Linked DNA regions of Homo sapiens: all the other regions are linked to region 3. The links are contacts of gene promoters, found by promoter capture Hi-C in blood cells and fetal thymus (Javierre and others, 2016). All regions are on one chromosome and are shown on one strand. The core of a region is centred on a gene start or on the middle of the fragment in contact, and the rest is flanking DNA. Distances in the headings are between cores, read along the strand shown. Region 1 has its middle 25 kb from the start of SPDL1. Region 2 overlaps LOC105377714 (a long non-coding RNA gene). Region 3 holds the start of RARS1 (arginyl-tRNA synthetase 1). Region 4 has its middle 8.1 kb from the start of DOCK2.

Region 1 (7,366 bases), core at 1,479-3,978, 1.1 Mb after region 3:
GCTGAGGCGGGTGGATCGCTTGAGCCCAGGAATTCGAGACCAGCCTGGGCTACATGGCAAAACCCCATATCTACAAAAAAATACAAAAAATTAGCTGGGCATGATGGTGCACACCTGTAGTCCCAGCTACTCTGGAGGCTGAGGTGATAGGATCATCTGAGCCCAGTAAGGAGGTCGAGGCTGTAGTTGAGCTGTGATCATACTACTGCACTCCAGCCTGGGCAACACAGCAAGACCCTGTCTCAAAAAAAAGTGGGGGAAATAAATAAGAGGAAAAAAGAAACCTCAGGAATTCTTAATTCCCTTATGTATAATTTTATATATAATTTTATGGTTAATTATATGTACATATACAGATGGTCTCTGACATAACAATGGTTTGACTTAATGATTTTTCGACTTTTCAGTGGTACAAAGACAGTATGCATTCAGTAGAAACTGTACTTCAAGTACCCATATGACCATTCTGTTTCTCACTTTCAGTACAGTACTCAATAAATCACATAAGATATTCAACACTTTATGACAAAATAGACTTTGTGTTAGATGATTTTGCCCAGTAGTAAACCAATGTAAGTTTTCTGAGCACATTTAAGGCAGGCTAGGCTGAGCTATAATGTTCATTAGGTTAGGTGTATTAAATGCATTTTTGACTTAATATTTTCAACTTATGGGTATATCGAATTGTAACCCCGTTGTAGGTCAAGGAGCATCTGCATATATACATACATAGATGATAGATAGATAGATAGATAGATAGATAGATAGATAGATTTAATTCTAAACTTTCCAAATACTCTTTCATTTAAATGATTATAGTTTTACAACAATTTCATATATTCTATAGGTAGGAGAATTAGGGTTTTCCAGAGAAATAGAACCAATAGGATGTGTGTGTATATAAAGATTTACTTTCAAGAATTGGTTCACATGGTTGTGGGGGCAAGTCCAAACTTGTAGGGTGGGCCAGCAGACTGGAGACCAGGGAAGGGAAGAGCTGATGAGTTCAAGTCCGAAAGCCATCACACTAAAGACCCAGGGAGATAACTGCCACTGCAGTTCAAGTTCAAAGGCTGTCTGCATCAGAATTTCCCTTTGCTGGGGTAGGTGAGTCTTTCCATCTAGGACTTCAATTCATTGGATGAAACCCATTCACATTAGAGAAGGCAATCTGCTTTAAGTCCACTGATTTAAATGCTGATCTCACCCAAAAACATCCTCACAGAAACGTTCAGAATAACACTATAAAGCAATTAGACCTAAAGAAATATGTAGCATACTCCACCCAAAGGAGAATACACCTTCTTAAGTGTACACAGAACATTGTGCAAAACAGACCAATGTTATGCCACAAATCTGGTCTCAATAAATTTTAAAAGTTGAAAAAGTATCTCGACTACAATGGAATGAAATTAAAAATCAACAACAAGAAAATCTGGAGAATTCACAAATACTATGTAGAAATAAAACAATACACTCTTTAAACAGCAGATGAATCAAAGAAGAAATCACTAGGGAAATATTTTGAAGATGAATTTTAAAATATTTTAAAATGAGTGAAAATGAAAACACAACAATAACAAAACTTGTTAAGTGTAGCGAAAGCAAAAGCCCTCAGTGGGGAATTTATATTTGGAGATGCCTACATTTTAAAAAAGAAAGCTCTCAAACTAATAACCTAACTTTATACTTTGAGGAACTAAAACAAGAAGAGAAAACTAAAAAGCTAAATCCACGGCCAGCAGAAGGAAGAAAATAAGAGATGAGAACAAAAACAAATGAAATTGAGAACACGAAAACAATGGAATCTATGGAACCTAAAGTTTGTTCTTTGAAAAAATCAAAATTAATAAACTTTTAGCTAGACTGATCAAGGAAAAAGGAGAAAAGACTCAAATTACTAAAATAAGGAATGGAAGTAGGGACAATACTGTCAATCTTATAGAAGTAAAAGGGGTTATGAGAGAACGCTATAAACAATTACAAATTATGTATACTAGATGACATAGTCAAATTCCTAGAATCAAACTACGAAAACTTATTCAAGAAGAAATAAAAAAAAAACTCAATAGAGCTTTAAAAGAGGGAATCAAATCAGTAATCAAAAAAACTTTCAAAAAGAAAAGCTCAGGACCAGATGGTTGCACTAGTGAACTCTACCAAATACTTAAAAAAGAGCTTATCTTTCTAAAACTAGTATGTCTCAATCTCTTCCAAAACATCAAAGGAGATTATTTCCTAACTAATTCTATGAGGAAAGTATTGTCCTAATTCCAAAGCCAAAGACATCAGAAGAAAACTACAAACCAATATCCCTTATGAATATAAATGCAAAAAATCTATAAAAAAAATACTAGCAAATTCAATCCAGCAGCATACTGAATTATACACCATGACCAAGTGGGATTTGTCCCAGGAATGCAACGGTAAATTAAAACAGGAAAACCAATGTAATATACTGTATTAGTTTCTGGTGAAATGAATTACCACACATTGAATGGCTTAAAACAATAAAAATGTACTGTTTTATAGTTCTGGAGGCTAGAAGTCTGAAATCAAGTTGTTGGCATGGTCTTGCTCCCACTGAAGGCAATAGAGAAGAAATATTTCCCTACTTTTGGTGGCTCCCAGCAATCTTTGGCATTCTTAGCCATCACTCCAATGTCTGGCTGTCTTCACACAGCCCACATCTCCATCTCTGTGTGTCCTCTCCTCTTCTTATAAGGACACCTTAACTAAGTATGATCTCATCTTGATCCCTAACTAATTATATCTGCAAAGACCATACTCAAAATTAGGTCACATTCTGAGGTTCTGAGTGGATAAATTTTGGGGGGATAGTATTTGAACCAATACACACACCATAGTAACAGAACAAAGAGGGGGAAACACCCCTGACATGATTACCTCAATTGACACAGAAAAAGCATTTGAAAAAATCCAGTATATGTTTATGATTTTTAAAACACTCAACAAACTGGAAATAGAAAGGAACTTCCAAACTAATTAAAGGGCATTAATGAAAAAAATAATGAAAGTATGAAAAAATCATACTGGTAAAAGACTGAAAGCTCTTCCCGTAATATCAGGAACAAGAAAAGGATGTCTTATCTTGACACTTATATTCAACGTTGTACTGAAATTGATAGCCAAGTCAGTTAGACAAGAAAAAGAAACAAAAGGCATCCAAATCAAAAAAGAAGGAGTAAAAATATCTATATTCACAGATGACATCATCTTTCACATAGAAAATATTAAAGAATTCTCCAAAAATCTATTAGAGCTAATAAATGATTTCAGTAGTTGCAGTATACAAAATCAACATATAAAAATCTAGTTTTCTTACACACTAGCAATGAACAATTAGAAAATGAAATTAAGAAAATTATTTAAGCAGCACCAGAAAGAACAAGCTCTTAGGAATAAATTTAACCAAGGAAGTGAAACTTTAACACACTGAAAACTACCAAGTATTATTGAAAGAAGTTAAAGACCTAAATTAATGGAAAGATATCTCATGTACATGGATTGAAAGACTTAATATTGTTAAGATGGCAATACTTTCTGTCTTAGTCAGTTTGGACTGCTGTAGCAAATTATTGTAGACCGGATAGCTTAAACAACTAACATTTCTTCTCACAGTTCTGAATGCTAGACAGTTCAAGATCAAGGTGCCAGCAGATCCAGTACCTGCTGAGGGCTCACTTTCTGGTCTGCAAATGGCAATTTTCTTGTATCTTCCACATGCTGAAGAGCAGAGACAGAGAATAAGTTTGTGTGTCTTTTTATAAGGGCACTAACCCCATTCATGAGGGTGGAGCCCTCATGATCTAATTACCTCCCAAAGGCACCACTTCCTAATGCCATCACATTGGGAGTTCGTATTTTGAAATATGAATTTTGGCAGGGGATACCCAAAGTGATCTACAGCTTCAATACAATTCCTATCAAAACCCCAATGAAAACGTGATTCTAAAATTTATACAAAATTGCAAGAGACCCCAATAGCCAAAACAATCTTGAAAAAAAAAAAAAAGAAACAGAGTTAGAGGACTTACATGTTCCTATTTAAAAACTTAGTAAAGAGACAAGAAACGAAACAGTGTGGAACTGGCATAAAGATAGACATAGATAATGGAATATAATTGAGAAATAAATGAGACTATAAGTAAATCAGAAATAAACCTATACATGTATGATCAATTGATTTTTAACAATGGTAGCAAGACCATTTAATGGGGAGAGAAGAGTTTCTTCAACAAATGATGCTGGAACTACTTGATAACCACATGCAAAAGAATGAAGTTAGACCCTTACATCACCTCATATGTAAGTATAAGTTCAAAATGAATCAAAGATCCAAATGTAAGAAGTAAACTATAACACCCTTAATAGAAAACATAAGGCTAAATCTTTGTTACTTGGATTTCACTATGATTTCTTATATATAACATGAAAAGCACAAGCAACAAAAGAAAAAATAGGTAAAATGGTCTTCATCAAAATTAAAAACTTTTGTGCATCAAATGACACTATTTAGTGGGTAAAAAGATATCCCGCAGAAGGGTGGGGAGCAAGATGACAAATAGAAGGCTCCACTGGAACACCAAATTTAACAACTATCTACACACAAAAAAAGAACCTTCATAACAACTAAAAATCACAAAAATCAGGTGAGCACTCAGAGTACCTGATTTTAGCTTCATATTACTGAAAGAGGCACTGAAGGGGGTAGGAAAGACAGTCTTGAATTGCTGATTCCTCCTCTCTGCCATCCTCCACATGGCACAGAGAAAAGGATCTGTGTGCTTGGGGAGGAAAAGCACAGCAATTATTAGACTTTGCGTTAAACTCAGTGCTGCTCTGTCACAGTGGAAAGCAAAACTAGCGTAACTCAGCTGGTGCCCACCCACAGAGGGAGCATATATACTAGCTCTAGCCAGAGGGGAGTTGCATATCCAAGCAGCCAGAACTTGAGTTCCGACAAGCCTCACCACCAGGCTAAAGTATTCTGGCATCCTAAGTCAACTTGAAACTCAGACTAGGTCACAAGGACTGCAACTCCTACGTGAGTCCTGCTGCTGAGCAGGACTCAGAGCCAGTGGACTGGGGGGCACATGACCTACCAGGACACCAGCCAAAGCAGCTAAGGGAGTGCTTGCATGACTCTCCCCCAGCCACAGGCTGTAGAGTTCAAAAGGCTATCAGCAGCAAACCCAAGTTTTTACACAATGAATTATTTTTAAAATAGCCCAAAAAAGGATATTCAACAACACATTAAAAAGTTCATTCATCATGACCAAATGGGATTTATCCCTGGGATGCAAGAATGGTTCAACATACACAAATCAATCAATGTGATAACATTTTAGCAGCAGAATGAAGAACAAAAATTCAATTCAATTGATGCTGTAAAAACATTTGATAAAAGTCAACATATCGGCCGGGCGCGGTGGCTCACGCCTGTAATCCCAGCACTTTGGGAGGCTGAGGTGGGCGGATCACCTGAGATCGGGAATTCGAGACCAGCCTCAACATGAAGAAACCCCATCTCTACTAAAAATACAAAAAAAAAAAAAATTAGCTGGGCATGGTGGTGCATGCCTGTAATCCCAGCTACTCAGGAGGCTGAGGCAGGAGAATTGCTTGAACCTGGGAGGCGGAGGTTGCGGTGAGCTGAGATCGCGCCATTGCACTCCAGCCTGGGCAACAAGAGTGAAACTCAGTCTCAAAAAAAAAAAAAAAAAAAAAAGTCAACATATCTTCATGATAAAACCCTCAAAAAACTGGGCTTAAACCATAGCTACGGCAAACAAACACAGCCAAAACCCTAGCCAGATAAACAAAAACTCATCACTTCGTTTTACTCAATATATTAGGTTTGGCTTTCAAAAAAATTTACAAGGCATACCAAAAGGCAAAAACACACTGTAGAGAATCAAGCAGGAATCAGATGCAGACTCGAATATGACAGGAATTTTAGGTGATCAGGTCAGGAATTTAAAATAACTATGACTAATATGCCCAGAGCTGTAATGGAAACAGTGGACAGCAGTCAAGTATGGATGGGTAATGTAAACCAAGAGAGAGAAACTCTAAGAAAGAATCAAGAGGAAATGCTAGAAATCGAAAACACTGTAGCAGAAATGAAGAATGCTTTTGATGATTGTTTTTGATGATCAAAGGACTGGGCATGGCCAAGGAAGGAATCTTCAAGTAAGCTTGAAGATATGTTAATAGAAACTTTTCAGACTGAAAAGAGAAGAACAAATTTAAAAAAAAAAGAATATCCAAAAACTGTGAAGCAATTACAAAAGGTCTACATTTCATTACATGTAATAGGATTAGTAAAAGAAGAAGAGAGAGGAAAAGGAACAGAAAAAATATTTAAAATAATAATGGCTAAAATTTTTCCAAAATTAACAGCAGATACCAAACTACAGATCTTAGAAGCTCAAAACAACACCAAGAAGGATAAATACTAAAAAATCTACAACTGCATGTAGGTTTATCATATTCAAACTTCAAAAAATCAAAGACAAAAAAAAATCTTAAAAGAAGCCTGAGGGGGGGGAAAATACCTTACTTAGAGACAAATGAAGATAAGAATTCTATCAGACTTCTATTCAGAAACCATGAAAAGACTTGCTTTAGATATGCGGGCTCTTTTTTGGTTCCATGTGAATTTTAGAATTGTTTTTTCTAATTCCATTAAGAATGATGGTGGTATTTTGATGAGAATTGTATTGAATTTGTAGACTGCTTGTGGCTATATGATCATTTTCACGATATTGATGCTACCCAACCATGAGCATGTGATGTGTTTCCATTTGTTTGTGTCATCTATGATTTCTTTCAGCAGTGTTTTGTGGTTTTCTTTATAGAGATTTTTCACCTCCTTGGTTAGGTATATTCCTAAGTTGTTCTTCTTTTTCTTTTTTCTTTTTTTTTTTCAGTTATTGTAAAAGGAATTGAGTTCTTGATTTGATTCTCAGCTTGGTCCCTGTTGGTATATAGAACAGCTACTGATTTGTGTACATTAATTTTGTATCTGGAAACTTTGCTGAATTTTTTTTATCAGTTCTAGGAGGTTTCTGGAGGAGTTTTTAGGGTTTTCTAAGTAAAAAAAATCACATCATCAGCAAACAGTGAGTTTGACTTCCTCTTTACTGATTTGGATGCCCTTTATTTCTTTCTCTTGTCTGATTGCTCTGGCTAGGACTTCCAATACTATGTTGAAGAGGAGTGGTGAGAGTGGGCATCCTTGTCTTGGTCCAGTTCTCAGAGGGGATGATTTCAACTTTCAGTATTATGTTGGCTGTAGGTTTGTCATAGATGGCTTTTATTACATTGAGGTCTGTCCCTT
Region 2 (7,435 bases), core at 1,682-4,181, 1.1 Mb after region 3:
GTAAACAGTGGCTTCAACAAATAAGGCTTTATTTTTCTCTCGTAACAAGCAGCCTGGAGGTAGACTTTAGCTGGCTTTTGCTCAGCAGCATCACAATGTTAGGGTCAGCATATCCCTTGCCTATTCCTTGCCTATCCCTTGATCTTTCCCTTATCTTGTCACCTCAAGTTCACAAACTGGCTGCCGCAACTGCAAAAATCATATCCTCATGACTGACTGAAGAGCTGGAAGATTAGTAGAGGCAGGAGGAGTGCCATCCAGGTTTATCTTTCTATATGGGGAAAAAAAAAAGTATTTTATAGAAGCTCCTGCAGCAGCCAACTCCTTTGGTTTCATGTGTCATATGACCAACTCTAGGTCCAAAGTGCCTATGACTTTGCTTCTCCAGCCTGAATTGTGGAAATCCCAGTCTTTTCTATGGTTTTTGGGTCAGCCAAGAAACCATGTCTACCACAATAATTTCTGTATTATATCTTCATATCCCTACACATCTCCTTCATTACACCTCCCAGGATAGTTATCTAGGTAGGGTTTGACTAAAATACGGACATAGAGCCAACATTAAACTATTGAGTAACTGAGATTTTTGAAGGCACTGGCTTATAGGAAATGTTAGCAGGAAAAACCAGTACCAACTGAGTCAAACAGGAAAGACTGCCTCAATGTTTGCCAAAATACATTAAGGCTAGCAGTTGGCTGATTTTCAAAAAATATATTTTCTAATTGTAAAAGAAATATAAGCTTATTTAACAAGAATTTTTGATTGTAGGGAATCATAAAAAGAAAGTGAAAGTCATCTAAAAGTAACTCCCTACATATTTGGTATATTCCCTTCAAAACATTTTTTGTAAGCGTTCTGCACATTTTCTTCCTTTCTCCACTCTGTTCTTTCCGTAACTATGCTAAGTTCTTCTGAAATCTGCTTTCATCTACCGAATATATCCTCGTTCCCTCTGCATATGGTTGCTGTGTTATATCCCATTATGAAGTATCATTGTTAAGAACACAGATCACCCCAGACCATCTGGGTGTCACCCCTAACGTGACCACTTATCAGCTGCATAACTTCTTTGTGGTTCAATTTTGTCATATTTAAGATGAGATAATAATACTATCTATGTACAGGATTGTTGTGCAAATTAAGCTAGTTAATCCTTGTAATGCACTTAGTAGAGTGACAGGCAAATAATAGAGCTCTATAAATGTCAGCCAGTTTTATTGTATGGAAATATGTCAACTAATTTTATTAATCTTGAATTGGTAGATATTCAAATTATCTTAAAATATTTGATTTGATAAATGGCCCATCCATTAATATCCTTGAAAATACATCTTGTCAAATAATGTCCTAAGGATACATTCCCTCAAATATAATTGTTGGGCCAAAGGATATCCACACTTTAAATTTTGACAATTAATTTCAAGCTGCTCTTTAGAAAGCTTGTTCAAAGCCATGTAGGAATTGCCTGTTTTTGGGTAAAGGAAGGTCTATTTTCCCATTCTAGACATTAATTTTTGCCAAACCAGCAGTGAGAATTCTCATTACTCTTTTAATTCACGTTTCTTTAATATGTAAAAAGGTTTAAAATTTTCTAAGTGTTTTTTAATCATTCATATATACATTGAGATGGAGTTTGGTTCTTGTGGCCCAGGCTGGAGTGCAACGGTGTGGTCTCGGCTCACTGCAACTTCCGCCTCCCGGATTCAAGTGATTCTCCTGCCTCAGCCTCCTGAGTAGCTGGGATTACAGGCATGCACCACCACGCCTGGCTAATTTTTTTGTATTTTTAGTAGAGACGGGGTTTCACCATGTTGGCCAGGCTGGTCTCGAACTCCTGACCTCAGGTGATCCACCCGCCTCAACTTCCCAAAGTGCTGGGATTACACACGTGAGCCACTGCACCCAGCCAATCATTCATATTTTTAATGAATCATTTGATTGTGTCCTTAGAGGCTTAATGGATTTTTTGTTGTAGGGGTCAGGTGACTTATATGCCCTTTAAATTAAAGAGTCCAACAGCAAAAGGGAGTCTGACAATATTCCAAACATTTCTTTTTGCATTCTCAATGACTGCTACCAAATTTTTCTCAGTTTGAAAGAAATAGCTGGTTAAGAGGAATTTTCAGCCTTTGTGAGATGTGCATCTGTTTAGAAAAGTCTATGAAAAGGGAATAGTAAAAAGATGTGGGGAAAAAAAACAGAAGAAAGCTATTTTAAATGAGAATGAGTTACTGAGTTATCTATTTGATCATTTTTTATTTTGATTATATTCGACTTATTATTTTGACATGCCCTGAATTGTCAAGGAGAAAAAATGAGACTACTGTTTTGCTAAGTATTCCTGGTATGCATCTTTGTGGGGGTATGAATCACATAAGTCAACTTTTCAACTTTCCTAGGACCACTTGCCTCAGCATCACTCAAAGAGCTTAAATATCCAATTCTGGAATTTAATCCTCCAGACACTAAAGATGAGTCTTTAAAGATATATCCCAGATAGCTCCATCTTGTAAAGGCCCTTTCTAGGAGATTCTTACATGCACAAATTTTGAAAAAAAAACTTTGGAAAATACCCATTTAGTACCTTCAGTTCATTCGATTGTTCATCCATTTGTTCAAAGAGTAATTAAAATAATTACTGAGCACCTACAATGTGCCAGCCACTGTTCTGGAGATGGAACAGTGAATTAAGCCCATGGTCTAATAGGGCTTACATTATAATGAAGGAAGTCAAACAACAACAAAAACATGCATTGTTATGCAAGGTGGTAAGTGCTATTACAAAGACTAAAGCAAAGTAAGAGGAAAGACAGTGATGTGGGGTGGGTACTACTGTAGGTTTATTAATAATCTATGACTTTCATTTGTCTCTTTTTTTGAACAATAAAGTTACTTTAATATCAATCTTAGAGGCATTCCAACTTCTCAGTTCACCTGAGTTTGGGGCTGCCTCTCTTGTCCTCAACATATTCTTGCTTCCTTCCACCTTCACCTATTCCTGGAGACCTCTGGCCCTATGGGGTATTAGCAAGGTATAGACTCAGTGGCCAAAGGGCTAGCCTTCTCCATCAATAGGACCATGAACAAACTAATGTGTGGTAAATAAAGAGCCTAGACAGCAATCAAGCAGTGATAAAATATGAACCAAGGCAATATTTACAGCCTACCTATGCCAATAAATTATCAACTGAAATCTTCAAGAAGCACACAGGCCAAGACATGGTGGAAGGATCCAGCACATTGGACAGCGCCAGTAGCATGGTAAGGTACAGCTGCGGAGGTCCTGCTGGCAGCTGCCAACTAACTTCCTGAGCATTATATTGCTCAATGCTTGGGTTAAATGAAGGTCAAGGGGTGGGAGGTGGAAGAATGAACCCAGAGCTTCAAAAGACCCTGAACCAAATCTGGTTAAACCAAGCACTGCTCAAGGAGGTTTTAGACCCTAAACCTAAAATGCAGCCAGAAACCCATACCAACAGTTACTCCTCTTTCAGAAGTAGCTGCAACAGCAACAGCAATGGAAATAAATATCTGGCAAACAGATTATTTGGCAGTTAGAGTTGAGTATGCAATTTTGGGTATACAAGTAGAGGTCTGCTCAAGTAAGACCAGAGTTTATTCTCCTCCTTCTCCTTCCCTTTCCTCCCCTCCTCCTCCCACTCCCTCTCCTCCTCCTCTTCCTCTTCTACTTCCTTGTTTCTTCTTCTTCCCTTCTTCTTCTCCTCCTCCTACTTCTTCCTTCTTTCTTCTTCTTTCCTCTTTCTTCTTCTCCTCCTCCTACTTCCTCTTCCTTCTCCTTCTTCCTCTTCATCTTCTTCTGCTTTCTTCATCCTCCTCCCTCTCTTCTTCTCCTTTTTTTTTTAAGAGACGGTCTTGCTCTGTGGCCCAGGCTGGAGTACATGGAGTGCAGTGCCACAATCATAGCTCACTGCAGCCTTGAACTCCTGGACCCAAGCAATCCTCCTGCCTCAGCCTCCTAAGTAGCCGGGACTACAGGCATGCACCACCACACCCAGCCAATTAAAAAATTTTCTTTTAAGGAAAGGGGTCTTGCTATGTTGCCCAGGCTGGTCTTGAACCCCTGGGCTCAAGTGATCCTCCCACCTAAGCCTCCCAAGTAGCTGGGATTATAGGCTTGAGCCACAGCACCCAGTAGAGTTTCTTAACTGGTATCCATGCACTGGCTAGTCCATAAACCCTATGATATAAGCAAGCCTCTCTCTCTCTCTCTCTCTCTCTCTCTCTCTCTCTCACACACACACACACACACACACACAATCTATAGGTAGATAGAGATCTGTGTGTGCGTGTGTGTGTGTGTGTGTGTGTGTGTAGCAAGGGGGCTGTGTACATGTACATTATTTTTTCTGGGAAGAATTCTTATAGATTTCATCAGATTCTCAAAGGAGACTGTAACCCAGTAAAGCTTAGGAACTATCATCTTAGACCAAGGATCAGTATCCTTTAGAACTTGAGCTGGAATATATAATTCAGCCACAGAAGGCTCTTGGTTAGAATGAATGTCATGGAATACTACTTCCACACAAACCCCAGCTACTGACACTCACCCTCAGGGTTATAAAATGTCTCATGCCTTGTGAGTTCAGTCCTTTGGACAGGAAGCTAAAAGTTTCATGTTCGTTATATATAAAGATCCAGGTTAGGGATTTTAAAAAACACATTACTATGTTAGCTAGCTGTCACTGCACGGTAAACCACTCAAAATTTAGTGGTGTTATTTACTTATGAATTGGTAATGTCAGCAACATGGATTAGGTTCAGCTAGACGATTCTTTTGCCTAGGAATTACAAGGCATGGGTTTAGAATCCCACATTATTTTTGCCACATTCATTAGTCAAGGTGCATTACAAGGCCAACCCAGATTCAAAGTTGTTGAGAAACAGACTACTTCCTCATGGGATGAGCTGCAAAGTCACACTGCAAAGGGGCTGCTCATGGAAGAATCACTGCGGTCATCTTGAAAACAATCTTCCACAGCTACATGCTGAAGAATTCATAGTTAAAATAATGTTATCTGTGATTTGCTTGAAAACATCCCAGAAACAAAAACTGGTGGGAAAATAATTGAAAGAAAAATGGCAAAAAGTGATCATTGTTGAAGCTTGATGATGGGCACATGAGGGTTATTTACATTAGTCTTTTTACTTTTGCATGCATTTGTAATTTTTTAAATTAAAAGGTTAAAATTAAATTAACAAAACACATGCTCTCTATGAATCCTTGTAACAATTATCTTTTCCCCTTTTACATGTGTGGACAGTGAATAGGGGGCAGTCATGTGACTGGTCATTTCTAAGGTCACTCATAGAATAATAGCTAATATTTACTGAAGACATAAAATGCACCAGCGCCTTCCCAACATTGTACATCATATCTCATTTAGTCCTCACGATACTACGCATCAGGTAGTATTATTGTCTCCATTCCTAAGATAAGAAACACCAGAAAGCTGACCAAGTTTACAAAATAAGTAGTGAAAGCCTGATTTGGATCCAAGAAATGTGGCTTCAAAGCCTCCACCCTATGAGGAGCAAAGCTGAGATTAGAATCAAGCTCTGTATGGCTCCAGCAGCAGGACCTCCCACTCCACGGTGCTAGGCTGGGACTTTCAGAGCTGGTGCTTCCCACGTCATTTTCCTTCGCTATACTGCCTGTCTGAATTTCCCTTCCCAAATTTGCACATTGCACATTAATACTGCACACTCAGTAGGGATCTGACTAAGTGGCCCACTTAGGGGCCCACTTAGTGGCTCACTTAGTCAGTAGGGATCTGACTAAGTGGCCCACAGCCCACTTCCCATAGGTGGAACACCTCTATTTTCTTCTACTAAATATATAATATATCTGTAAGTGCTTTATAAACTGTAAGGTAATTTGAAAGGTTCACTTGTTCTACAAATTAAGTAGCATTTTAAATGAACAACTAGTTGAAAAATTATTTTTAAGACTCTCCAAAGAAGTTAAATCTTGTGGTAAAGCTCTCCTTTGGAATTGTCCTTACCAACATCTGCAAGTGCAAGCGCGTTTTCGTTCAGGGTGAGAATTGTAGGTGAGAATCATCATTGTAGGAGGAAAAGCAAGAAGATTCATGAAGTGGGAGTTTGGGCTATCAAAGTTTGTTTCCAGGAATGACCTAAGAAGAACCAACTGGGAGCAGCTTGGGATTTTTCATTTACTCTTCCTTCAGAGTGAAGATACTCTGTGCTACTCCTAAATGCTCTCCTGTCTATGTGTTAGAGCCTCAGCCACTCCAGCCTGAGGCTGTAGCTTGTCACTCCCGACTCTGAGGAAGTAAGAGAGACAATGTACCAAAATACTCAGCAGGAAAATCAGAGTGGAGGGATTTCACTCCCATGTTATACGAAATAGCACTAGGCATTGCCTGAAAGGATCCTTTGTCCAACCCCATCAGCAGCAACACCACATCCCAACTGCAACGGAGAGGTCTATAGATGCAGAGTCGAAGTGTGTGCGTGTGTGTGTGTGTGGGTGTGTGTGTGTGAATGGATTCATGACTTATTTAGAAACATACCAAAACTTAAAAAGAGAACGTTTGCTCTAAGAGTTAGTTACTGATACAAAGCAAAGTGACAGAATATTTTATTGAGATTCAGAATAAAAATCGTTCTTCCGGGGTCCTATGTATCTTTTTGTAAGATAGGCTTGTGTTCCTTCCATAATAAAGGGAAAGTAAGTAAAATGGTGTCTTCCACACGTACAAGACTTGTCAACAGTCTTCTCCCAAGCATCCCAGCTGTCCAGAGGACATTAAAGGACTGAAGACATTAATTGATTGATAACATGGAGCTATGCAGTGCTTTCCAATGCTTCATCTTTCTAAGAAATCAAAATTAAGGAGCATGAGAAAGCAGAATCAGCTAATTACAAAACTTAACATTATATAAAAATATAGAAGGAGAGATAGAGAGAGAGAAAGAAGAGAAAAAAAGAAGAAGAGAGATAGAGAAGCAACCTTCTTACAGACAAGCTCCTTAATCACTCAGGTTTCAAACTCAGTCAATTACAATCACACACACAAAACAGTCAAATATTTAATAAAAACACAGTTGAAACTTGACCTCAAATACTTGTAGGTGCATTGTATGTATCAGGTTTCCCAGAAACAGGAGTCATAAAAACACATTATTTATCAAGAAGTATTTTCTCTCGCCATCCAAGTAAACTCTTGCCCTGGAAACCACACAGCTGTCGCCTTTGGGAAAGAGGTTGGATTGCGGGTGCTAACTTTCCTATCTTTAAGTTCCTTCAAACCAGGCAAAGGTAAATCAAAATTTGAATTCTCTTTAGCTTTCAGAATTTCAGAGAAACCAAAAGTCTATACCAGAATATCAGCCAGATACTATGAAGGGATCATAGTTGAGAGAGTTGGAACTGCTGAGTTTTTAATTTTA
Region 3 (7,216 bases), core at 224-2,723:
AAATACTTTTATGAGGCACGGAAGCGAAAACGTTTAGAGTGCTACTTTCTAAGTTCTGGAGTCATAGAGAAGAGTGAACAAGATAATTAAGGTCCCTGCCCTCTTAGAACATATATCCCAGGTTTGCTGTTTATAATTTTAACTCAATATATATACAATGAAATATTATTCAGCCTTATAAAAGAAAACCCTGTTATGGGTGACAACATAGATGAACCTGGAGAACATTATGTTGGTGCAATAAGCCGGGCACAGAAAGACAAATACTACATTAGCCCATGTATATGTGTAATCTAAAAAATTCAGATTCATAGAAGCAGAGCATAGAATGGTGGTTGTCAGGGCTTCAGAGGTAGGAAAGATGGGAGATGTTGCTCAAAGTTACAAAGTTTCAGTTAGGCGGGATGAATAGATTCTAGAGATGTAATGTATATTGTATACTTGCAGTTTTCGTTTTCGTTTCGTTTTGTTTGTTTTTAAATAGAGAGAGAAAAGGTCTCACTCTGTCATCCAGGCAGAGTACAGTGGCATGATCATGGCTCACCGCAGCCTCAAATTCTTGGGCTCAAGTGATCCTCCCACCTCAGCCTCCTATATACCAGGGACTACAGGCACATGCCACCATGCCCGGCTATTTTTCCATTTTTTTGTAGAGACGAGGTCTTAGCTGTTTCCCAGGATGAGAATAGATCTTAAATGTTCACAGCACACACGCGCGCGCGCGCGCGCGCACACACACACACACACACACATGCAAATGATAACTGTATGAGATGAAGGTTATGTTAATTATTTTGGTTGTGGTAATCATTTCAGAATGTATACATATATCAAAACATTACGTTGTACATCGTTATGATATACAATCTTTGTCAATTATACCTCAATAAAACTGGAAAAATAAATAAGATTTTAACTCAAATGTCACTTGCTTAGAGATGTCTTCTCTCACCCAAGTCACTCTATCACATTGCCTTCCTAGCAATTAAAACTACCTGAGATTATTGCCTTTTTTGGTCTATTTTCTCTCTCCATTCTAAAATGTGTCTGCCGTGAGAGGGGAGATCGTGTCTGTTTTGTTTTCTTTGTGCCCCCAGAGCCTAGAATACTGTCTGGCATTTTAAAGTACACAATAAATGTTTGTTGAATAAATGAATGGATTTGTTAGTTTTGTGCCCATTTCACAAAGGGGCAAAGTGAGGCCTTTGAGAGCCAGAAGCTCTAGGTCAGTGACTGTCCTAGTCTATCCAAGCACAGAGCAGCTCTGGTTAGTGTCTGCTCAATTCCTCTCCCCTCGCCCAAACGTCCCTGAGTTGCGGCCTCGCTCCTGACCGAAATCCCCGCGGGTTCTCCTCGCAGTGTCTACTGGATCCCGCCAGGAGGCAGCAGAGGCGCCAGCACCCAGTCCGACGGGACAGCGGACCGGAGGGGGTTTCCGCTTCCGGGAGAGGCTGACCGTTTCCGCTTCCGTCCACTTGGCGAGTGAGACGCTGATGGGAGGATGGACGTACTGGTGTCTGAGTGCTCCGCGCGGCTGCTGCAGCAGGTTTGGACGCAGGAGACCGGCGGGAAGGCCTGAAAGAGATGGAGCAGGCTCTGACTCCTGCCCAAGCGGCTTCGGGGGCGGGACAGCTAGGCGAGGACCATCCTGGTCCTCTCAGAGTGGAGCGGCACGGTCCCTGTGGGAACAGGAAGGGTTGAGAGAGGAAGCACCCATCATTTCAAAGCCCGTGTGACTGTGATTTTCAGCGGAATGGAGGGTCCCCACCCTCTCCCAGGCCTCCCCCAAACCAGCGTCTTCGGTGGGCTGGAGCCTGGCATGTTCAGAACAGTTCTCTCCCTACAATCCACCTCCTCTTCTGCATACACACGCGATTTAGGGGATGCGGGGAGATAGACAAGGGGGGAATACATTCAGAGCTCTGGGTCTTGGTTTGCAGCTCAGCCGCAGTTCTTCCCGGGTTACTGAGCGAGAGGATTCCTAATAAGCCCATGGGGTGATTCATTATCAGACCAGCGGAGCTTGCTCTGTGCCCTCAGCATTCGTCGGGAAGGAGCAGCCACACCATATAAAAGTGAAAGCGGCCGGGCGCGGTGGCTCATGCCTGTAATCCCAGCACTTTGGGAGGCCGAGGTGGGCGGATCACGATGTCAGGAGATCGAGACCATCCTGGCTAACACAGTGAAACTCCGTCTCTACTGAAAATACAAAAAAACTTAACCGGCTGTGTTGGGGGGGGTCCCTGTATTCCTAGCTACTCGGGAGGCTGAGGCAGGAGAATGGCGTGAACCCGGGAGGCGGAGCTTGCAGTGAGCAGAGAGCACACCACTGCACCACAGCCTGGGCGACAGAGTGAGACTCCGTCCCCCTACAAAAAAAAAAAGTGAAAGCGGAACAGTTCCATTACCTTTTATGCCCAGGTGGGGAGGGATGGTAGGAAGATAGTTCACAGTACTCTGTCCTGTTACGGCTGTATACTTAATCAGCAGTCACAAAGTACAAGTTAGTCAAGTAAATTGGCAAGCTCTTTACATTTCTGAGCCATTTATTTATCGGTATGTATTTATCTTTGCCTCACTTGGTTGTGATAATCATGAAGGTAATTTCTGAAAAGTGTTTTTAGCTCAGCTCCTGGAACATAATGTATGCTCATTTTTGGCAATTTGGTTTTGGCTGTAGCTATCTCCCAGTAAGTATTCTGAAATTTCAGGTGAGGAACTCCCCCTGAGTTTTGCAGTTTAAGTTGGAAGCTTTATTTCTTTCTGAATTGACATGTCTTTAGTTTTAGATGTTAAACTACAAAGCCTGGTCTGGTCTAGTCTAGGACCTAAGACACTGGAAACAGGAAGAAATGGGAAAATTGTTTAGTCCCAGAAAGGGTGAAAGGCAGACCCTTGAGCTATTTTGAATGTGACAAAGGACATTTGGGTTTTTTAAGAGTCCCAGGTCATAGGATTTGGGAATAAAAGCAGGTTGGTCAACCTGAAACTTAACTACTCTTGCTAAATCAGAGTGTTTATCGAGCCAAAGAAAAGAACTAGGGATATGAGACATGAGGCATATCCCATTATATACTTACTCCGATTCCTGTCTCCCAAAACACATGTATGTGTGGTTAATATATTCTTTTTCTTTTTCTTTTTTTTTGAAACAGAGTCTCGCTCTGTCAAGCAGACTGGAGTGCAGTGGCACGATCTCGACTCACCGCAACCTCAGCCTCTGGGATTCAGGCAATTCTCCTGCCTCAGCCTCCCAAGTAGCTAGGATTACAGGCATGCGCCACCATGCCTAGCTAATTTTTGTATTTTTAGTAGAGACAGCGTTTCGCTATGTTTGCCATGCTGGTCTTGAACTCTTGGCCTCAAGTCATCCACCTGCCTAGGCCTCCCAAAGTGCTGGGATTACAGGCGTGAGCCACCATGCCTGGCCAATATTTTCTTATTAAGGATAATATGCTAACGTCAGCAAAAATCTCAGAGGAGAAAGAAACACAGCTCATCAAAGGGAACATTAATGATTCCCATGGTCTATGCCACGCCTTGGTAGAGAGGGGAAATGTGGAAGTAAGTTTATGGACTGAAAAAAGTGCTTTTTTTCCCACAGGAAGAAGAGATTAAATCTCTGACTGCTGAAATTGACCGGTTGAAAAACTGTGGCTGTTTAGGAGCTTCTCCAAATTTGGAGCAGTTACAAGAAGAAAATTTAAAATTAAAGTATCGACTGAATATTCTTCGAAAGGTGAGTACTTTGGGTTCCAGTTTTATTCTCCAGTTTGAATCATTATAGCTTTTTTAAAGCCTTTGTTACCAAAGATTCTGGAAGTATATCCTATGGAATTTGGAAAAGAAGCATAGAAACCCTATTCTTTTCCCTGCATTAGACAACTTAGGACTGAGGTAGTTGGTGCAAATAGTGACAAGTTGGTGTTGTCCTGTCCTTCAGGACTCTTTGAAATGTTTCATCCTGCTAACTGTTTGGCTAACTTAAAGTAGGATTTAGGTAGGGTTGAGGCATTTCTTTTTAAAAATTTATTTATTATTTTTTGAGACAGGGTGTCTGTCACTCAGGCCAGAGTGTGGTGGCATCATCACGGCTCAGTACAGCCTCAACCTTCAGGCTCAAGCAGTCATCCCACCACAGCCTCCTGAGTGGCTGGGACTACAGGCGTGTGCCACCACATCCAGCTAATTTTTTTTTTTTAATAGAGATGGGGTCTTGCTGTGTTGGCCAGGCTGGCCTCGGAATTCCTGGCTTCAAGCAACCCTCCCTGTCTTGGCCTCCCAAAGTGTTGGAATTACAAGTATAACCTACTGCACCCAGCAAGGTTGAGGCATTTCTTTCAACAGTTTATGCCCATGCCTTTTTTAAAAAAACATGTTTGATTTTTAAATCATTGCCTCTATCATAAAGGAAATATTTGAAAATACACCTGCATATTTTCTCTGCCCTAAGTTGGTTATTTTACAGTTTTATATCTTACATAATCATTTGGGGTTTTTTCCACCTGGTATTTCAAAACACTTTTTTTCCCCATGAAGCTTGTGCTATGTTTATTTAATGGTCTCATGATTTAACAGTGTTTTACCAATTTTGTTTTAAAAAAATGAACTTGCTGCAGTTTTTTGGCCTGCCTTTCGTATTTGGTGATGACATATCCCAGAGTGTTGACCTCATTCCCATAATTATTCTCCTGTGTGTATATATTACTGTCAGACAAACTCTGCAGGCATTACATCCTTTTCCCAAAGCTGATTGATCCATTTACTCACCTTAGACTCTATCTTCCCCACTCCCATGACATCTCTCATATTATCTTTTTTTTTTTTTTTTTTTGAGACGGAGTCTCACTCTTGTTGCTCAGGCTGGATTGCAATGGCACAATCTCAGCTCACAATAACCTCCACCTCCCAGGTTCAAGCAATTCTCCTGCCTCAGCCTCCCCAGTAGCTGGGATTACAGGCATGCACCACCACACCTGGTTAATTTTGTATTTTTAGTAGAGACGAGGTTTCTCCATGTTGGTCAGGCTGGTCTGGAACTCCTGACCTCAGGTGATCTGCCTGTCTCGCCTTCCCAAAGTGCTGGGATTACAGGCGTGAGCCACCGTGCCCGGTGTCCATATTTCCTATTTGTGATCTGCTATGCTCGAGTCTCATATTACCTATATGTGATCTGCTGTGCTTGTCTTTGAGTCTTCTAGAATCACAAAATTCCTTTTCCATAGAATCTTCCCAAAAGAATCTCACCTTTCTCGTTATGTCATTCATTCTACACTTATATATGTTTAATTCTCTGTTATATTTATTTTAATTCAAAAGTATTATTAAATGTCTAATATGTGCTAGAGACTATAAGGGAAAAGATACAAAAGGAAGTACAGTATTTTGTCGAACTCCTCGCCTCAAGTAATCCTCCCACCTCAGCCTCCCAAGTAGCTGGGATGGAAGTACAGCATATTTTACTACACATTTTTCTGTAATGCAGATTAGCTCTTATATAGCTAGGAGAATGCTCTCACTGTATTGTGGGAGGCATATTGGTTCTTTGACAAATACTTTGCCCTACTGAATGAGCAGCTGAACACAAGGTACACAGCAGAACTAAAAACCACAGAGTAATAAAGTACTGTGTGTGATGGCCATTCACCCTGTCGTTTTTCCCTGGTTCACTTTGGCCACATGCTCTGACTTGAAAGCATCACATATGAAACTGGTAGAGACAACTTGTTGAATTGATTATAATCAGATAGTAATTTTCATAGTGCCAAAACTAAGCACAGTAGATTTCGTGTGTGTAGGTACACACACATACATATGTACATGGTGGTACTCCTATCCTTTAAAAATAAAAAATTGAGGTTGGGCGCAGTGGCTCACACCTGTAATCTCAGCTGTTTGGGAGGCCGAGGCAGGTGAATTACCTGGAGTCAGGAGTTCGAGACCAGCCCAGCCAACATGGCAAAACCCTGTCTCTACTAAAAATACAAAAATTAGCCAGGGATGGTGGCATGGGCCTGTAATCCCAGCTACTTGGGAGGCTGAGGCATGAGAATCACTTAAACCCAGGAGGCAGAGGTTGCAGTGAGCCAAAATCGTGCCACTGCACTCCAGCCTGGGCAACAGAGCAAGACCCGGTCCCAAAAAAATAAATACATAAAAATAAACAAAAAATTGACATTTATTATAGCAGGTTTTGGGTATAAGATCATAATCTAGGCCAAGTGTGGTGGCTCATGCCTGTAATCTCAATGCTTTGGGAGGCCAAGGCAGGAGGATGTCTTGAACCCAGGAGTTCAAGGTTACAGTGAGCTGTCATGCCACTGCACTTTAGCCTCAGCAGAGTGCACAGTGAGATCTTGTCTGTTACCCCCAACAAAGAAGAGAAAAGGATCATATCCAAGTAAATTTGGCATTTGCTGTTGGAAATCTTTAGATTGGGAAAAATGTATCTTCCTTGTTTTAAGTATGTTACCACAGAGAGGAGTCAATTATTGATTAGCTACAAACTTGAAATCAGGTTTTTTAGTGAATTTAAGAATATAATTTCTTCATATGATAGAGAGGGCTGATGAGGGGAGCATAAAACTTGGACTGTCCATTCCAATAGACCTGAGTTTGAATCTGGCCTTTTCCACTTATTCTGTCTTGTCTTTGACAAGTGACTTATCTGTAGCCCACATAGAAATAGTGATAATAGTAACAAGCTCGATTTTATTATGTAGATGGAATAAGATAATGCATATAAATAAAGCATTTGGTTCAAATCTTTGCATACTCAAGTATTAACTTTTGTTATTGTCATTATTTTATACTGTTGACATTTTGATGAATATAAATTTGTGATGAACATAAAATTGTGATGAACATGTTGATGAACATAAAATTGACAAACATAAAGGTGTATAGGCAGCATGTTTATCTTCTATTAAAAGCATATGTGTCATTCACCTTTTTTTTTTTTTTTTTTTTTTTGCTAAACTGCTGTATGGCAAGTACAGTGCTAGATGCCAGGGACAGGGAAGAGAGCCATGAATTAAGCACTTTGTGTGCATCCAGCAGTCTAGTGGTAGAGACAGATAGTTTTGTGAGGGTATGATAAGTGCAGTAATAGAGATAATTATATGCCATCTTAAATGACTATATTCCATGGGAAAACAGGAGGTAGTAGGTCTCATAACAGTAAAACAAAACTACTGGCTTTTCTGGTATATTAATA
Region 4 (7,353 bases), core at 2,876-5,375, 1.1 Mb after region 3:
AGATGTGATTGAATTGTTGCAATCTCATGGTAACTCTTGAAAGGATGAGGAATTGCTTCTTATGAATAAGCAAATAAAGTGATTTCTTGAGATGCAGTCTACTCTTGGTGAAGATGTTGTGAACATTGTTCAAATAACTATAAATGATTTAGAAATATTACACAAATGTAGTTGATAAGGCAGAGGCAGGGTTTGAGAGGACTAATTTTGAAAGAAGTTCTACTGTGGGAAAAATGCTATCAAACAGTATCATATGCTACTGAGAAACCTTTAATGAAAGGAAGAGTTCATCAATGTAGTAATTTATTTGCTGTCTTGTTTTAAGAAATCACGGCCAGGTGTGGTGGTTAACACCTATAATCCCAAAACTTTGGGAGGCCAAGTTGGGAGTATCACTTGAGCCCAGGAGTTTGATACCAGCTGGGGCAACATAGTGGGACCCTGTCTCTACAAAAATATTAAAAAATAAGGCTGGGCGCGGTGGCTCATGCCTATAATCCCAGCACTTTGGGAGGCCGAGGTGGGTGGATCACCTGAGGTCAGGAGTTCAAGACCAACCTGACCAATATGGAGAAACCTTGTCTCTACTAAAAATACAAAATTAGCCGGGCATGGTGGTGCATGACTGTAATCCCAGCTACTCAGGAAGCTGATGCAGGAGAATCACTTGAACCCAGGAGGCAGAGGTTGCAGTGAGCCAAGATCACACCATTGCACTCCAGCCTGGACAACAAGGATGAAACTCCATCTCAAAAAATAAATAAATTTTAAAAAATAAATAACTAGCTGGGCATGGTGGCACATATCTGTAGTCTCAGCTACTTGGGAGGCTGAGGCAAGAGGGTTGCTTGAGCCTGGGAGGCCAAGGTTGCAGTGAGCCATGATCACACATCACTGCCCTCCAGCCAGGATAACAGAATAAGACTGTATCTCAGAAAACAAAGGAAGAAAGAAAGAAAAATAAAATTGCCACAGCTACCCCAATCTTCAGCAACCACCACTCTGATCAGTCAGCAGCCATCAACATTGAGGCAAGATCCTCCACCAGCAAAAACAGTTATGGCTCACTGAAGGATCAGATGATTGTTAATATTTTTTAGCAATAAAGTATTTTTAAATTAAGGTATGTACATTATCTGTGTTCATAGACATAATGCTACTGCCACTTAATAGACTGCAGTATAGGATAAACATAACTTTTATATGCATTGGGAAACCAAAATTTTGTGTGACTTGCTTTATGTTGCAGTAGTCGAGAACTGAACCTTCAGTATATCTGAGGTATGTCTTTATTTTCCAGACTTCTTTGCAACTAGATGTGGGCATGGGACCAATTCTTGCCCAAAGGAATGTGAGCAAAAGTGTTGAGTGCTATTCTGAGCCATGCTGTTATTTCCCTCTAACTCCCTTTCTGCTGACTGGAATGGAAATATGGTGGTGAGTCATTGTGGATCATGCACATAATGATTGTGAACCTGGGGGATAATGGAATAGCAAGAAAGAAGGAGCCTTCACCCTTCACAATGTCATAGAACTGCAATACCAACTATGCAGAAAAGAATTGGACTTCTATCTTATTTTGGCTACTTTATTTTTGGGTCTTTGGCTTTGGCTGCCTACTTGATCTACATATTCATTTCCTTGGTAGGCAAGTCCTATGGATACCATCTCTGAAATATATTTTGCATTTGACTGCTGAGCCCCTACCATTTGGTCCAATCCACCATCATCTTTCCCTGGATGCTGAACCACTTACTGGCCTTGTTACTTTCATTCTTGACCTATAGAATTTGTTTTCTAATTGAAATAATTTTTTAAAAAGATTATATTACCTCCTGCTTAAAATCCTCTAGTGACATTGTCAATGCCTTCCACCTAAAGACCACCAGCAATGCACCTGCAGTAAAAAAAAGTTGGGTTTATTGCTTGTGGCTGCATACCATGGGGAGTCCTGGGGTGTTCCAGTAAGAGTATGTTAGAAGGGACTTTACTATGGATAGGTCTTGGACTTGTGTTATGTGATTTGGGGTAGTGTTTAAGAAGGCAGTGTTAATTCTGTGATTAGGTAACTTAATACATCTCATCTAGAAGAATGGAAGACTAGAATGAGGCTAAGCCTGAAACTGATTAAAAGGAAAAATCAGTAGTCATTCACGTTAGCCATGACAGAATAATGACATCTGGTCATTTTTGGTTTGGACAATGTTCATGTTTTGTCTATGATCACTCATGGTTACAGAGTTGTCTTATTTTTGTCTAGATTCGTCACAGTCACAGGCTGGCGCTGCCTGATGTTGATGTTCAACATGAGAAATTGTTCATGTTCAATAGGAGAATATCACAGCCTACCTGTAAGGGCCTAGCCAGCACCTGACTGTCTTTCTCACTTCCCAGTACACTTATAGTAAAATTCCAACTCTTTAGTGTGATCTTCAAGGTTTTATGTAATTTGGTTCCTATCTAACTTCCAACCTAAATTTTACCACATGGTCACTGCACACCCATGACACAGGCCATTTTTGGTTTCTTAAATACAGTAAGCTTGTTCTCCCATTGGGATCTATACAAATGTGTTTGCCTCTCCCAGGAACATGTTTTTCCCAAGGGTCACTTTTTAAAAAAATATTTTTACTTAAATTCTGGGATACATATGCAGAAGGTGCAGGTTTGTTACATAGGTATACATGTGCCGTGGTGGTTTGCTGCACCTATCAACCTGTCATCTAGGTTTTAAGCCCTGTATGCATTAGCTATTTGTCCTAATGCTCTCCCTCCCCTTGCCCTCCACCCTAAGACAGGCCCCAGTGTGTGATGTTCCCTTCCCTGTGGCCATGTGTTCCCATTGTTCAACTCTCATTTATGAGTGAGAACATGTGGTGTTTGGTTTTCTGTTCCTGCGTTAGTTAGCTGAGAATGATGGCTTCCAGCTTCATCTATGTCCCTGCAAAGGATATGAACTCATTCTTTTTTATGTCTGCATAGTATTCCATGGTGTATATGTACGACATTTTCTTTATCCAGTCTATCATTGATGGGCATTTTGTTTGGTTCCAAGTGTTTGCTATTGTAAATAGTGCTGCAATAAACATACATGTGCATGTGTCTTTATAGTAGACTGTTTTCTATTCCTTTGGGTATGTACCTAGTAATGGGATTGCTGGGTCAAATGGTATTTCTGGTTCTAGATCCTTGCGAGGCTGTGAAGAAATAGGAACACTTTTACACTGTTGGTGGGAGTGTAAATTAGTTCAACCATTGTGGAAGACAGTCTGGTGATTCCTCAAGGGTCACTTTTTAACTATTACTTTCTCAGACAGCCCTTCCCAGACCATCCCCTTTTCCACTCTCCCACAGTACTCTTTATACAATTTATTTTCTTTATTAAAATGTATTATGTACATGGATTTTCTGCCTTCCCTTCTAGCCTACAGGATTGATGAGAGTGGCAATCTTGTTTGTGTTGTTCCCCAAGATATATCCTCAGGACTTTTCACATGATGAGTTCTCCATAGACGTTTGTGGAATGAAGGAGCACTCAGCCTCTAGGAATGGGTGGAAGTCCAGTAAAGCCACAATTACAACATGGCATGCAGATGTGTATTGGACTTAGAGAAGAGATACACCCAGATGACTGGAGGCTTATTGCTAGAACATGAAGGCTTATGAGGAATCTATTGTCTCTTTCTAAACCAGATAATTGATTTCTCCAAAAAATCAAGAGATTGAGATTATTCAAGAGGCGCTCTTGGCTCAAGTAATTTGCTTTCTGCAGTAATGTCTACTATTTATACTTCTGAAATGAGAAGACCTAACTGGGTTGGTTTGCTATCACCCAATACAAAGCCTCCTTATTGGCCAGAAACTGTTGGCCTTTCTCGTTTGTAATACACCCACCAAGGTCTCAACTCAGTGTCTATGGGGACTAGGCAGGTAACTTAAATGAATGAAGCAAACTGGGTTTGTTGTTATTATGGCAACTTAAGAAGAACTTGTTCTATGTAGACCTACATCTAAGAATATTCTTCACATCTGTAAATATATACACCCTCTCCCATGTTTCCTGAAACATATATCTTTTCAGTCTCTCTTATTTTCCCACTTTTGATAGAACACAGGGCCAAGCAGTATTTCATTTTTGTTTTTATCTTAAGAAAAACAACTGTGTAAGCACAATGGTAAATAGCCATTGAAATTTGGCCTCAGCATTGGAGATTGTGGCAACTAGAGTGCATGTTCAAACTCAAGGACAGCTGCTGAAGCTGCCTCCAGCTGAAACTGCCTTGTGGAAATGCAGTGTCTACATTTATTTAGAGAGAGACTAGAAATCTAGAAGTTCAGGTAAAATCTCTTGATTGTTAATTGCTGGCAATTTTTAAAAACATTAAAAACTGTAAAATAAAATATGCTTGTTAAACAAATATGTCACCCTCCAGATTTGGCCTTTGGACTGCTAGTAGTTGGCCCCTGTCAAATATCATTGTTTCTAGATGAGTCAGTGCCAACGAGATGTGGAAAAGGAGCAGGGCTGATGTCACTGCACCCAGTATGAGCCTTGGCAGCTTTGCAGAAAGAGCCATTGCGACTACTAGACAGACCAGTAGTTCATGAGCATGGGCTGCCGCAGGAGGGTTGTCTAACTGGAGGGGGAATTGGGAGGTGGGGGGAGTCACCAAGTAAATCTTCCCAGAACTACTTAACCTAGAGGGCAAGAAGAGGTATTCCTATTGGAGGAAGGACTACAGCACACAGAGATCTGAGAATTGTGGCACTTCTAGGAAACTTCAAACAGCACCATCTTGTAAGAGTGTAGGGTGATTGTGGGTGTGGTGCAGGGAGGTGGTGTAAGAAGGGGCAGAGGAGGCAGGAAATGAAGCTGTCGGGGGGAATGATGGCCCTGCATAATATTCTTAAGACTTTTAAATAGTGTGCAAAAGTATTTGAAGGATGCACTGAAAGATATTAATCTGGGCCTTGACGTCTTAGTCTCACAGTTGAGGTAGATCCCACCGGCAGATGCCTACAGCATTAACTAGCAGTGGGCTTGAGGCTATTAACATTTTTAAATATATATACATATATATATACTTTATTTCCATAGGTTATTGGGAAACAGGTGGTGTTTGGTTACATAAATAAGTTCTTTAGTGGTGATTTGTGAAATTTTGGTGCACCTATCACCTGAGCAGTATACACTGCACCCTATTTGTAGTCTTTCATCCCTCACCCTCTTCCCACCATTTCCCCTTGAGTCCATTCTGTCATTCTTATGCCGTTGCATCCTATAGCTTAGCTCCCATTTATGAGTGAGAACATACAATGTTTGGTTTTCCATTCCTGAGTTACTTCACTTAGAATATACTTATGATAGAATAATACTCAGCCATAAAAATGAATGAATTAGTGACATTCGCAGTGACCTGGATGAGGCTATTAACATTCATCTGATAGAGCAAACTCTAGGTAAGCAGGAAAGCTCTTGATTCTCCCTATCGCCAACCCTCACTCCCACAGTCACTTCTAGAGTTTTGTCTGTTACTGAAGGCAGAATTATTTGAATGCCTACTTATCTACATGCCATCTTTGTTGTTGGGCCTCCTTCCTTTACTGTAACTAATTGATTTTGGGAGCGTATATCCTTCTTACCGAGAGTCTTTTATGGTCCTGATCGGAATGTGGACTCCTCTTTGGTGAGTAAAATTTAGGTAAGTACAAGCTTTTGCTCTCGACTGTCTGAGCTGCTGAGAATATACTCGGCTATTTGCCATGACTGTAACAGCTAACACAAGAAGAGACAATGAGAAAAATGTTGACTAGTACTGTGGAGGATGGAGTTTCCAAAGGCAGCCATGTGATGGACACAGGTCAGTGGGACACCAGAAGCCTCTAGGCATCTACCTACTGACGTGCCAATGCTAACTCCGGGTAGCCCTCTCTCCTATCTGGGCCCAGGAGCTCTCTGGCTGGGTGTTGGTGGACTTGTGCAGTAGGGGGCCCACCCCCATGAACTACTCAGAACAAGCTGACAGGCACTGTAGTGACGCAAGAATGGGAGGAGGGCACTCGAATGTCTTGAGATATAGCTATTTAGCAACTGTATGGAAATATTCCAATATTTAGTAATCATTACAGGCATACTAGTGAAATCCAGCCAAATCTTGGACCTGAATACATATGACTCTGAAAAAGATGGACATCAGAAACCTCCCCTTCTGCTGTGCCTTAGGGAAAGAGTTTTCTTCAATTTACCTAAACCATGAGTCCAGTTAGATTTCTTTGGGCTATACTTGAGGCTTTGCATAGTTATTTCCTGTGGAATGTCTTTATTTCACATTTCACAAAAGTTGTTAAACCTCTCACGTTATTACAAACCTGCTTTGCTTATATTTTTCCTAGATTATTCCAGAAGCTTGAGAAGACCAAAACTACTTGGGCAAAGGTTCTCAGAAGTAACATGGAGAAGAGATTGGAAGGAGGCAAGGTTGGAGGAAGGGATCTCTAATCCAAGTTTCAAGGAAGATCTTAAGTTTGTGGGATGGGGAAGAGGGCAGATTCAACAGCTGTTTTTGAGATTATCATTTGGAATGAAAGGAAGATTAGGATGAGTTAAATTTCTGACCCGAGTGAAGTGAAGGGTAATGATGCACTCATGGGCAATCATAGTGGATATTGGCTACAATAAGGGATTTCATTTCTCTGGCCTCAGTTTGCTGATTAGCAAATTGGGGGTAAAATTGGGGTAATAATGGTACCTGTCTTATGGGGCTGCTTTTAGGATGACACGAGATAATGCATGCCAACTGTTTAAATCAGGGATTGAAAGGCAGTAAGTATTCAATGAATGGGGCTCAGAAAGTGTTCAGTGAATTTGCTGCAAACCACAAAGCTAGGTAAGTGATGGAGATGGGGTTCTAGCACCTGATTAAAGCACAGTCTGGTCACTTCATCTGTTAACATTGGGTAGAAACAGTCAGAAGAGGGACAAGTCTAGGGTACAGTTATGATATGAGCTTGGTTTTGAAATATGGAGACATTGATGGGGCTGGGAGGGGATGTCTAGGAGGTAGTTGGACACACAGGACTGAACTTAACAGAAATCTTGGCTAGAGATGTCCTTTTACCCACAGTCATCCCTCACAATGTATGTGAAGTTATAGTCATCAAGAGTGTACTACCTAATAGTCAAGTAACTGACAGATGGTGTTTAATAAAATTGTGTGACCAAGATTATTGTAAATTCTTTAAGTGGTTTTAGTCAGATTTTTATGTTTGACTATTGATCTCTCTTGCCAAAAAATTTTTATGATGCCATAGGATTGTTAACTGTAATGAAAAGCCCATATTTCAGAAACATAA

The links. The method cuts DNA at HindIII sites, captures the fragments that hold promoters and counts their contacts. A CHiCAGO score of 5 or more calls a contact.
Region 1: a fragment that was not itself captured here is called in contact with the fragment with the promoter of RARS1 in region 3 in 1 of 17 cell types (naive CD8 T cells); the score reaches 5.4 in naive CD8 T cells.
Region 2: a fragment that was not itself captured here is called in contact with the fragment with the promoter of RARS1 in region 3 in 1 of 17 cell types (naive CD8 T cells); the score reaches 6.3 in naive CD8 T cells.
Region 4: a fragment that was not itself captured here is called in contact with the fragment with the promoter of RARS1 in region 3 in 3 of 17 cell types (total CD8 T cells, naive CD8 T cells and activated CD4 T cells); the score reaches 7.6 in total CD8 T cells.

What each region holds. Positions count from the first base shown.
Region 1 is chr5:169,604,839-169,612,204 of GRCh38, forward strand. No RefSeq gene overlaps it. Among named protein-coding and RNA genes, the nearest start is that of SPDL1, 25 kb to the left of the region's middle. The HindIII fragment of the contact is 6,981 bases long and covers 1-6,219 here.
Region 2 is chr5:169,564,022-169,571,456 of GRCh38, forward strand. All of the region lies in intron 2 of LOC105377714 (a long non-coding RNA gene), which reads right to left. Among named protein-coding and RNA genes, the nearest start is that of SPDL1, 16 kb to the right of the region's middle. The HindIII fragment of the contact is 2,987 bases long and covers 1,439-4,425 here.
Region 3 is chr5:168,484,998-168,492,213 of GRCh38, forward strand. RARS1 (arginyl-tRNA synthetase 1) reads left to right here and starts at 1,474. Exons shown (of 15, transcript NM_002887.4): 1 at 1,474-1,546; 2 at 3,605-3,739. The coding sequence starts at 1,502. RefSeq lists an enhancer at 6,003-6,172. The HindIII fragment of the contact is 3,317 bases long and covers 1-2,749 here.
Region 4 is chr5:169,625,539-169,632,891 of GRCh38, forward strand. No RefSeq gene overlaps it. Among named protein-coding and RNA genes, the nearest start is that of DOCK2, 8.1 kb to the right of the region's middle. The HindIII fragment of the contact is 3,172 bases long and covers 2,540-5,711 here.